3 separate regions of the Homo sapiens genome follow, and all the other regions are linked to region 3. The links are contacts of gene promoters, found by promoter capture Hi-C in blood cells and fetal thymus (Javierre and others, 2016). All regions are on one chromosome and are shown on one strand. Each heading gives the region's core, a stretch centred on a gene start or on the middle of the fragment in contact. The rest is flanking DNA. Distances are from core to core; before and after follow the strand shown.

Region 1 (3,224 bases), core at 198-2,697, 190 kb before region 3:
AACAGCCATACAAACCCACAAATAGTACATTTCCATGTGAAAAAATGTCCACAATAGCATCCTTCCTCTAAAAACGTTTGCCTTTTCAAATTTTCAGTGCAGCACGGAATTCAGGAATGCACAGCCATCCCGAAAGTAGTCATTTTGCAGAAACAGATGAGGAAGACATGTGGTAATGTGTTTAATGTAATTGTGCCTCCTAGTAAAGTAAGTTCAGAAAAATCAACTTTGACTCGTGGCACATTTTGTGTTTAAAACACTGGGCATCAGGCATGCCCTACAACACAAGCGTGGTATCTTATTCACACCTAGTGAAAAAAAAAAAAGTAATTTCTTCCAGGAATGAATTTCAAAATATGTGGGAAAGCTTTGTAGGTGTCTGGGAGATACTTGTAATTCAAGAACATTGTTGTCAGCCATATATCTTTTATAGCAAGAAATGCTAATGAGGGGGCTGCATTAGTGTTATTTAATGCTTTGTTCTCCTATCCAGGATGCCACATAAGGATTGAGTGTGATTCAGCTCCATCGATTTCCTTCCTTACCCTTTTAAGCTGTTGAGTGAAGTGGATGGTACACACAGTGGTTAGGCAGAGTAATGCTTTTACTTTATTCACTGTGGAATATGAGAAAATAATTTACAAATAATATATATTCCACATTGTGTCAGATAGTAAGTGATATATCTGTTTTTCATATCCATTGCTGTTTTCTTATTCTAGTTATTTTATAAGACTTTCCCATTTCTTTCTTGGGGTGGGCAGTGCAAACTGAGGCCTCTAAAATAGCCTCTTATTGTTATGTTTACATTAATAACCTCTGTAGTGGAGAACTCAGACAACTTTGCTGGCATGTGAGAGACGTGTGATCACAACCAAAAACATCTAAGTTTTAAATGGGTACCTCAGCTATCAAGCATCTAAGTTTTAAATGGATACCTCAGCTATCAGTTAAATTAACTATGTAAAAGGACAAACTCTTAACCGTGTCATACTTCAGTTTTGTCTCCTCTCTATGGATCATACATACAAGCAGATATGTGTTGAAAGCTTTGCTCTATTTTGTGATGAAAGTGTGCTTGATGCATGAGCTGTCTTATTAATTGGTTACTATAGATAGTAAGCTTGATTTGTAAAATATTTGTAAAATAATACATCTCCCTTATGAATACTGGAAAATATGCATTGATGGTAGGCCCATAACTTAGAATCAACCATATAGTTAGCAAAGCATTATTTGAAATATTAAAATGTTTTTTAAAAAACATTTTAATGTTTATTTTAGCTATTGAAAACATTTTAATGTTTATTAAAATGGTATCTCACTGTGGTTTTGATTTGCATTTCTCTGATGACCAGTGATGGTGAGCATTTTTTCATGTGTCTTTTGGCTGCATAAATGTCTGAGCTCTTCTTTACATGCTTCACTTGCTACTCTAAGAAAAACCTCCACCACTACCACTTCATCTGTATAGCCTGCAAATTGAAATTGTAATTTGAAATTATGTATCGATTTAAAATAAAATCTAAAATAAAATAACAGCACAAAAGTTGAATGCTCGACTTAATTAAGTAGAAATTTAAAGTTGGATGAAAACTTGAAGGCCTTCTAACACAAGCCCTTTATTAGACAGATGAAGAAACTGAAGCACAAAGAGGTAAAGTGAGGTGCCCAACGCCAGACAGCAACTGAGAGGCACAGCGAGTTCCATAGCTAAATATCCTGACTCCCAGTCCAGTGTTCCTCCCGTTCCTCCATGAATCTTGTTTTGAAGCTTCCTGACAAACTCTAGAACAGTAAACCTCCACTAGTATTTTTCCAGACCGTGTTAAAACTGCTAAGGAGGTAAGAAGGGATGCTTTCTTGGATAATGTCAGCCATACGTAGCTCACACTCTCTAAAGTTCTGGGACAGGGTCTTTTTATATAGCCAACAGAGTGCGAATGTAGTGCTGTGTTCCCAGTTGGGCCTTTACTGAAGGGGGAAAAAAAAACAAAAACAAAAACAAAAAAAACAAAATCCAAGAATCATCTTGTTTCAAAACAAGGGACATATTAGACTACCTCCCATACTCGTTCAGAAAAAGAAAAATCAAGTTATCTTTAAAAGATTCTAAAACGCCTCTTCCCAAATATGCAGTCAGTTCCTTCAAAGGGCCCTTTGTTTAATTGCAGGAAGAAGCCCGAGACACCTGAAAAGCAGAAGGCATCTGAGCAAAATGAGATTACTCAGCCAGGTGGCTCCAGCGCCAAGCTAGGCCTTCCCTGCCAGAACTTTGAAGCTGTTTAGTCTCCAGACCCAGCCCATATCCACTCAACACATTCACTGACAAACTCGCTCACACAGGGTCATCTGATTGTAAGTACACCACCAAGGTGATGGTGTCTTGGCAGTGCTTGGAGTAGTGCTTCTCCCTGGGTTCTGGCTTTTTTACTTTCCAAACAAGCTGTTTGCTTTCAGTCTTCTAAAGCAGTCAAAAGTAATGTGCCACCATTTTCATTCAGCCAACATCTGTGTATTTTCAAAGCTAGAATATATTTTAAAGCCAAATGACAAGCCATTTGGCCTCAAAGGCTGATTAATTACATAAACCACATTCTCTTCATAACACTAACTCAGAAAAAGAAGTTTTGTTGCCAGTGTCTAATTATTCTTGATCTGAATAATGGCACTTCCTCAATTATTAAATTGAACAACCAAACACGGACCTCAGAAGGTCAGTTAGACACAAGGAAACATCCATTTTGAAATTACATAACACAAGCCAGATTTGCACTAGTTATTAGAGTCTCATGTAGCTTGGCTGAATTTCTGTCTTTCCAGTTTTTAATTTATTTGAAATGGTTAAAGGATAATGAAAATTTACATAAGAAAAGATAATGGCTTTCAAAAGTTCAGAAGTCATGCAGACTTCACATAGCCAATGAGAATTCAGGTTTAAAATATTTTTTAATTAGAAAAACAATCGAGGTGATGTGGCTCACGCCTATAATCCCAGCACTTTGGGAGGCTGAGACAGGTGGATGGCTTAAGCCTAAGAGTTTGAGACCCGCCTGGGCAACATGGTGAAACCTCATCTCTACAAAAAATACAAAAATTAGCTGGGCATGGTGGCATGCACCTATAGTCCCAGCTACTCGGGAGGTTGAGTTAGGAAGAAGGCTTGAGCCTGTGAGGCTGAGGTTGCAGTGAACGGAGATGGCGCCGCTGCACTCCACCCTGGG
Region 2 (3,255 bases), core at 389-2,888, 240 kb before region 3:
ATCATATTTTCTTTATCAATTTATCTGTTATTGGACATCTAGGTTGATTCCATATCTTGGATATTGTGAATAGTGCTGCACTAAACATGGAGATGCAGATATCTCTTTGATATATTGAGTTCCTTTCTTTGGGGTATATACCCAGTAATGGGATTGCTGGATTATGTGGTAGTTTTATTTGTAGTTTTTTATATACCCAGTAATGGGATTGACAGATCATGTGGTAGTTTTATTTGTAGTTTTTTTGAGACACCTCCATACTGTTCTCCATAGTGGCTGCACTAGTTTGCATTCCTACCAATAGTGTATAAAAGTTCTGGTTTCTCTGCATCTTTATCAGCATTTGTTATTTTTTGTCTTTTTGACAATATAGCCATTCTAACTGGGGTGAGACGATATCTCATTGTGGTTTTGATTTGCATGCCCCTGATGAATAGTGATGTTGAGCATTTTTTATACATTTGTTGATTATTTCTGTTTTTTTTTGAGAAATGTCTGTTAAGATTTTTTACTCATTTTTAAATCAGATTATTTGTATTTTTGCTGTTGAGTTCCTTGTATATTCTGGATATCAGTCCCCTGTCAGATGAACAGAATGCACATATTTTCTTCCATTCTGTAGGTTGTCTTTTCACTCTGTTGATTGTTTCCTTTTCTGTGTTGAAGCTTTTTATTTTGATATAATCTTATTTGTCTACTTTTGCTTTTGTTTTCTATGCTTTTGAGGTCTTATTTATAAATTCTTTTCCCAGACCAATGTCCTAAAGTGTTTCCCCTATATTTTCTTCTAGTAGTGTTTTATAGTTTTGGGTCTTAGGTTTAAGTCTTTAATCCATTTTGAATTGGTTTTTGTATAAGGTGAGAGATAAGGATCTGGTTTCTTTCTTTTGCATATGGAGATCCAGTTTTTCTGGCACCCTTTATTGGAGAGACTGTCCTTTCCCCAGTGAATGTTCTTGGTGCTTTTAAAAAAATCTGTCGGCTGTAAATATGTGGCTCTATTTCTGGGTGTTCTATTCTGTTCCATTGGTCTATTTATCTGTTTTTATGCCAGTACCATGCTATTTTGGTTCCTACAGTGCCTTATTTCCTTTGTGTTGCTATGAAGGAATACCTGAGGTTGGGTAACTTATACAGAAAAGGGGTTTATTTGGCTTACGGTTCTGTGGGCTGTATAAGAAGCATGGCACTGGCATTAACGTCAAGTGAGGGCCTCGAGCTGTTTCCAATCATGGCAGAAGGGGAAGGGGAGCTGGCATGTACAGAGATCACATGGTGAGAGGAGGCAAGCAAGACAGAGAGAAGGAGGTGCCAGGCTCTTTTTAACAAGCAGTTCTCATGGGAAATAATAGAGCATGAACTCACTCACTACTGTGAAGACGAGGGTGGCAGCCAGTCATTCATAAGGGATCTGCCCCTATGACCAAAACACCTCCCACTAGTTCCCACCTACTAACACCGCCACACTGGGGATTAAATTTTAAAATGTGATTTGGAGAGGTAAACAAACCATATCCAGACAATAGCATATAGCTATGTAGTATATTTTGTAATCTGGTAGTGTAGTGCCTCCAGCTTTTTTCTTTTTTCTTGGGATTGCTTTGGCTATTAGGGGTCTTTTCTGGATCCATACGAATCTTAGGATTGCCTTTTCTGCTTCTGTGAAGAATGTCATTAGTATTTTCATAGAGATTACATGGAATCTGTAGATCACTTTGGGTAGTATGGTCATTTTAACAATATTAATTCTTATGGTCCATGAACATGGGATGCTGATATGGTTTGGCTGTATCCCCACCCAAATCTCATCTTGAATTGTAGCTCCCTTAATTCCCATGTGTTGTGGGAGGGACCCAGTGGGAGATAATTGAGTCATAGGGGCAGTTTCACCCATTCTGTTCTCCTGGTAGTGAATAAGTCTCATGAGATCCGACGGTTTTATAAGCAGAAACCCCTTTTACTTGGTTCTCTCATTCTCTCTTGCCTGCTGCCAAGTAAGACATGCCTTTCACCTTTCATCATCATCGTGAGGCCTCCCCAGCCACGTGGAACTCTGAGTCCATTAAAGCTCTTTTTCTTTATAAATTACCCAGTCTCAGGTGTGTCTTTATCAGCAGCGTGAAAATGGGCTAATACTGGTGCCTTTTATCTTTGCTGTCCTCCTCAATTTCTTTCACCAATATTTTATAGTTTTTCTTGTAGAAATCTTTCACCTCTTTGGTTAAGTTTATTCCTAGGCATTTGATTGTTTTTGTAGCTATTGTCAATGAGATTGCTTTTTTGATTTATTTTTCAGCTAGTTTGTTGTTGGTGTATAGAAATGCTACTAACTGTTGTATGTTGATTTTGTATCCCGCAATTTTACTGAATTCATTTTTTAGCTCTAAGAGTATTTTTGTGAAATCTTTATATATATATATATGCATGTATGTATATAAGAGCATGTTATCAGCAAAGAGGGACAATTTGACTTTCCTCTTTCCAATTTGGATGCTGTGTATTTATTTCTCTTGCCTAATTGTTCTGGCTAGTAATTACAGTACTATGTTGAACAAGAGTGTTGAGAGTAGGCATCCTTGTCTTGTTCCAATTCCTAGAGGAAAAGCTTTTTAAGTTTCCCCATTCAATACGATGTTTTGGGTTGGTTTGTTATACGTGGCCTTTATTGCATTGAGGTATGTTCCTTCTATATCTAATTTGTTGAGAGTTTTTGTCATGCAGGGCTGTTGAATTTTATCTAATGCTTTTTCTGTGTATATTGAGATGATCATTTAGTTTTTGTCCTTTATTCTGTTGATGTGTTGTATCACATTTACTGATTTGTTATGTTGGAACATCCTTGTATCTCTGGGCTAAATCTCACTTCATCATGGTGAATAATCTTTTTGATGTGCTGTTGGATTTGGTTTGCCTGCATTTTTTTGGAGGATTTTTGCACCTCTGTTCATCAGAGATATTGGCCTGCAGTTTCCTTTTGTGTTGTGTCTTTATCTGGTTTTGGTATTAGAGTGATGCTGGAATGAGGCTCCACTGTCTAAGAACAATAGGGTGTTGTAGATTTTATCATTGTTCTTGCCTCAAGATGTGGCAGTGCCTCCTCCTGAAGCAGGAGAGAGAAGGGAGACTCTGGCTTCTTTTATGGGCAACAATGGCAGGTCCCTTTCCTGGGTGCTGGGAGGGAGTTGTGGTAAATAGGCATACAAAGGGTTTATTCTCCAGCCCCCCTTAACATACCATAAGACACTACCAAGGAGG
Region 3 (3,030 bases), core at 1-2,500:
CCCGGAGCCCACTGACCACCTGGAGAGCAGGGCCCCGTAAGCATTCCATCAGCCTCCGCCTCTTTTCCCCCTCGGGCACCTGCCACATCTGTAGCATCTCAGTGGTGTGCTCAAGCCAGGCATCAAAGGCCAGTGCACCTGGGATGGATATGGTGTTCCCAGAAAACACTCTTAGTTCTCGGTACAACATTTGTTCTAGCAGAGGCTGCACTGCTGCCCCCAGAGTCTGGGCCCAGGTCCAGAACTCTGGTGATATAGTCACTCTTGGAGCCGAACAATTGGTGTCCGACCCGAGGACTCGGTTCATATCTGACACGGTCCGCCTCTCCTCCTCTAAGAAGCGGTTCAGTCTGTTGAGAAATTCCCCATCTGAGTTACGGGGTTTTACAATCACTTCCCAGGGCCCCCCCTTTCCTGGTATTTCCCTTGGGAGCAAAGCATAGTCGATATCTTGTGCCAGCTCCAGTAGAATCGCCTGGGCGTTCTCCTCCCTCCTAAACATCCTGCCAATCACCCTGTATCTGCCCAGGTGCCTGCAAGCCTCCTGGAGTGTCTCCTCAAACTCATCCTCGCCACAGTCCTCGGGGATCCCCAGGATGAGCATGCACCTCCGGGTGTTCAGGTGTTCCCCCCGACACCAGTCCTGTAACAAGGTCAACGGCATGTCCTCGAATCTCTGCGGATACTAATTTGGGGGGAGTGATCAGGGCGTGAGGCACATATCTGGATCAACTCCTAGGGTGATCGCAGAAGGCCCAGGTCTCCACAGCCTGTGAATGCGAGCAGGGCGAGAGCGAGGTTAATGCCCACCTCTCCGCACGCCCACATCCACGCCCACCCCCACCCCCACCCCCAGCCGCCCTCCTCCCCGGGCGGCGCCTCTGCAGCCAGGCCCCGCCCCTGCCCAGCCCCCCACCCCCACCCCCCGTGGGGTCTCTGCGGGCCTCAGCCCCCTCCCCGCGCTGCCCCAGGACCCTGGACCCCTGCCCTGCAGGCTGCTTCAGTTCTGATAGGGCGGACAGGCGAGGGGCGGCGGAGTCTCCCGGGGCCCAGCGTCTCCCTCCCCAGGTGGGTCTGTTACCTTCTCCCAGGGCAAGGTCCCTTCTGGTCGGGGTCCCCAGAGGGCTCTCCGGGGGCTATGCGCGGCGGCGGCGGCGGCGGCGGACGGGGGTCGGGCACCCCTGGCTCCCAGCGCGGACGTTCGCTCAGACTGTGGCTCTCCCTCGCTCGCGCAGCACGTGGGCCAGTGCGCCGGCGCCTGCTCGCCGCGGCTCTCTGCAGTGCGGACACGGGGCGGGGGCGCGGCGGCGGTGCAGCGCGGACCCCTCCGCGTCGTCCGGGAGACCGCAGGGCCATTGGCGCGGACGGGTCACGAGGTCGGGCTCTCGCCGCCGCCCCTGGGGGCCCCAGGTCCCCGGGTGACGTCACCTGCTCCTCTCCCCTAGCCCCCCCGCCACGGGGGCCCCCGGGCCCCCGGGCACACAAGCGCCCGCCCACCCCCATCCCCACTGCGGTGGCCAAAGGTCTGTGGCGGCCAGTCCCCGTGCCTTTGGCTCTCACCACAGCGGTTCCTGGTCCCGGCTCCTGCCCCTCCCGCACGTGCCACGGAGGTGCCAGCGGGGCGAGGGGTCTGCACCCCGGCGTGCCCACCAGAGGGCCAGGGAGTGGTCTGAGGTGCGCCAGGCAGCTCTGCATTATGGCCAGGGTCAGGGAGCCGGGTTCTGGGGCCTGTTCACCTGCTCTTGTCCTCCCCCTCCCCGTCCAGGACTGGTCCTCTGGCTGGCGAGGCCAGGGGCACCTGGTGCGGGTGCCATTCCGTGCAGGAGATGCCCCAGGCACTCATGCAGGTCACGCACACCACCCCAAGGAGGGTCAGCCATCTCCCCGCTGTCCATCCCGCTGCTGGGACCTGAGGCCCTCCGGCCAAAGCGCTTCGCTGCCCAGGTGCCAGTGGACAGGTTTACCGGGACCTTTCCGGTTTTGTGCGCTGCAAATCTAGTGACTTGGGAAACCACTTCCAGGACTTGGAGCCCAATCCCTTGGGCCTGCCCTTCCTTGGCAGCCGTGCGCCGTGGGTTCTATTGTATCCGTTTGATCCCAGGGCAGCAGCCAAATGAAGAAGGGAGTGACTGTCCCTCAGGCAGTGGGCCCAGGTGTTCTGTGGGTCCTGCCTGCTCTGCCAGCCGCATGCTCAACTCCTATTCACACAGCTTCAGCTCCTCTCCAAACACAACGAAAAGGGGCTTGTGGTTGATTTTCAGGCCAGGTTCACCCATCCAGCCAAGTCTGGGAGGCCACCTTGCAGTGAGTGGGGCACAAAACTGTCCACTGACTTCCTGCCCCACCCTGAGTTCTGCTCGTCAGCCTGGCACTTGTCAGGGACCAAGAAGAAATGGCCCCAAGGGCTTTTTCCTGGTCAGACAGAATTCCTGAAACATCTTTACAGGAGTTATTTCATTTGCTCCTCACCAGAACTCTGAAGCAGGTATTAACATTATCCTGATTTGACTCATGAGGCTCAGAGAGATTAAGAGACATTTTCAAGGTCACACACCGTATTGAAGGTAGAATTGAGACTGGATTCTAAATTAGTGCCCATCAGTCTTTGGGTAGAATTGGGACTATTTCTCCCCTGGTTGCTTCATGCCTATTAGAATTTATTTCTCTCATTTTTGTCCATTCACAGTCCCTTGCTTTGTCACTCCAAGGGCTCAACCAGCTTCAAACTGAACCTTCATCTGCCCAACTTGCAGGGGTGGAAACAGAGGTTCAGAGAAGGGACACTACTGGCCCAAGGTCACACAGTGAGTAAATGACAAAGCTTGAGATGTCAAGGGGAGATGCCAAGTATTCATGCCAAGGCAGAGGGGCGTGTCTGGAATGTCTCCGGAAAGAAGCCTGTGAAGTTCCCAGACAGACGCAGTGATCTGTGGATGTTCTGGGCATTGGGAAAAAAGGATTTGGAAACACTGGTATCAAGACAATAGATGTGAATATGTCCAATTTGAAAAGTTTTAGAACTCCTTTATA

Evidence for each region. The method cuts DNA at HindIII sites, captures the fragments that hold promoters and counts their contacts. A CHiCAGO score of 5 or more calls a contact.
Region 1: a fragment that was not itself captured here is called in contact with the fragment with the promoter of PNMA3 in region 3 in 10 of 17 cell types (M2 macrophages, non-activated CD4 T cells, total CD4 T cells and 7 more); the score reaches 9.0 in M2 macrophages.
Region 2: a contact is called between a fragment that was not itself captured here and the fragment with the promoter of PNMA3 in region 3, in 5 of 17 cell types (activated CD4 T cells, M1 macrophages, naive B cells and 2 more). The highest score is 6.5, in activated CD4 T cells.

The regions. Positions count from the first base shown.
Region 1 is chrX:153,248,253-153,251,476 of GRCh38, reverse strand. No RefSeq gene overlaps it. Among named protein-coding and RNA genes, the nearest start is that of PWWP4, 16 kb to the left of the region's middle. The HindIII fragment of the contact is 651 bases long and covers 1,122-1,772 here.
Region 2 is chrX:153,298,067-153,301,321 of GRCh38, reverse strand. No RefSeq gene overlaps it. Among named protein-coding and RNA genes, the nearest start is that of PNMA6F, 22 kb to the left of the region's middle. The HindIII fragment of the contact is 1,939 bases long and covers 669-2,607 here.
Region 3 is chrX:153,054,690-153,057,719 of GRCh38, reverse strand. It overlaps PNMA3 (PNMA family member 3), which reads right to left and starts at 1,250. Exons shown (of 2, transcript NM_013364.6): 1 at 1,082-1,250; 2 at 1-770. The coding sequence starts at 664. The HindIII fragment of the contact is 3,087 bases long and covers 1-2,823 here.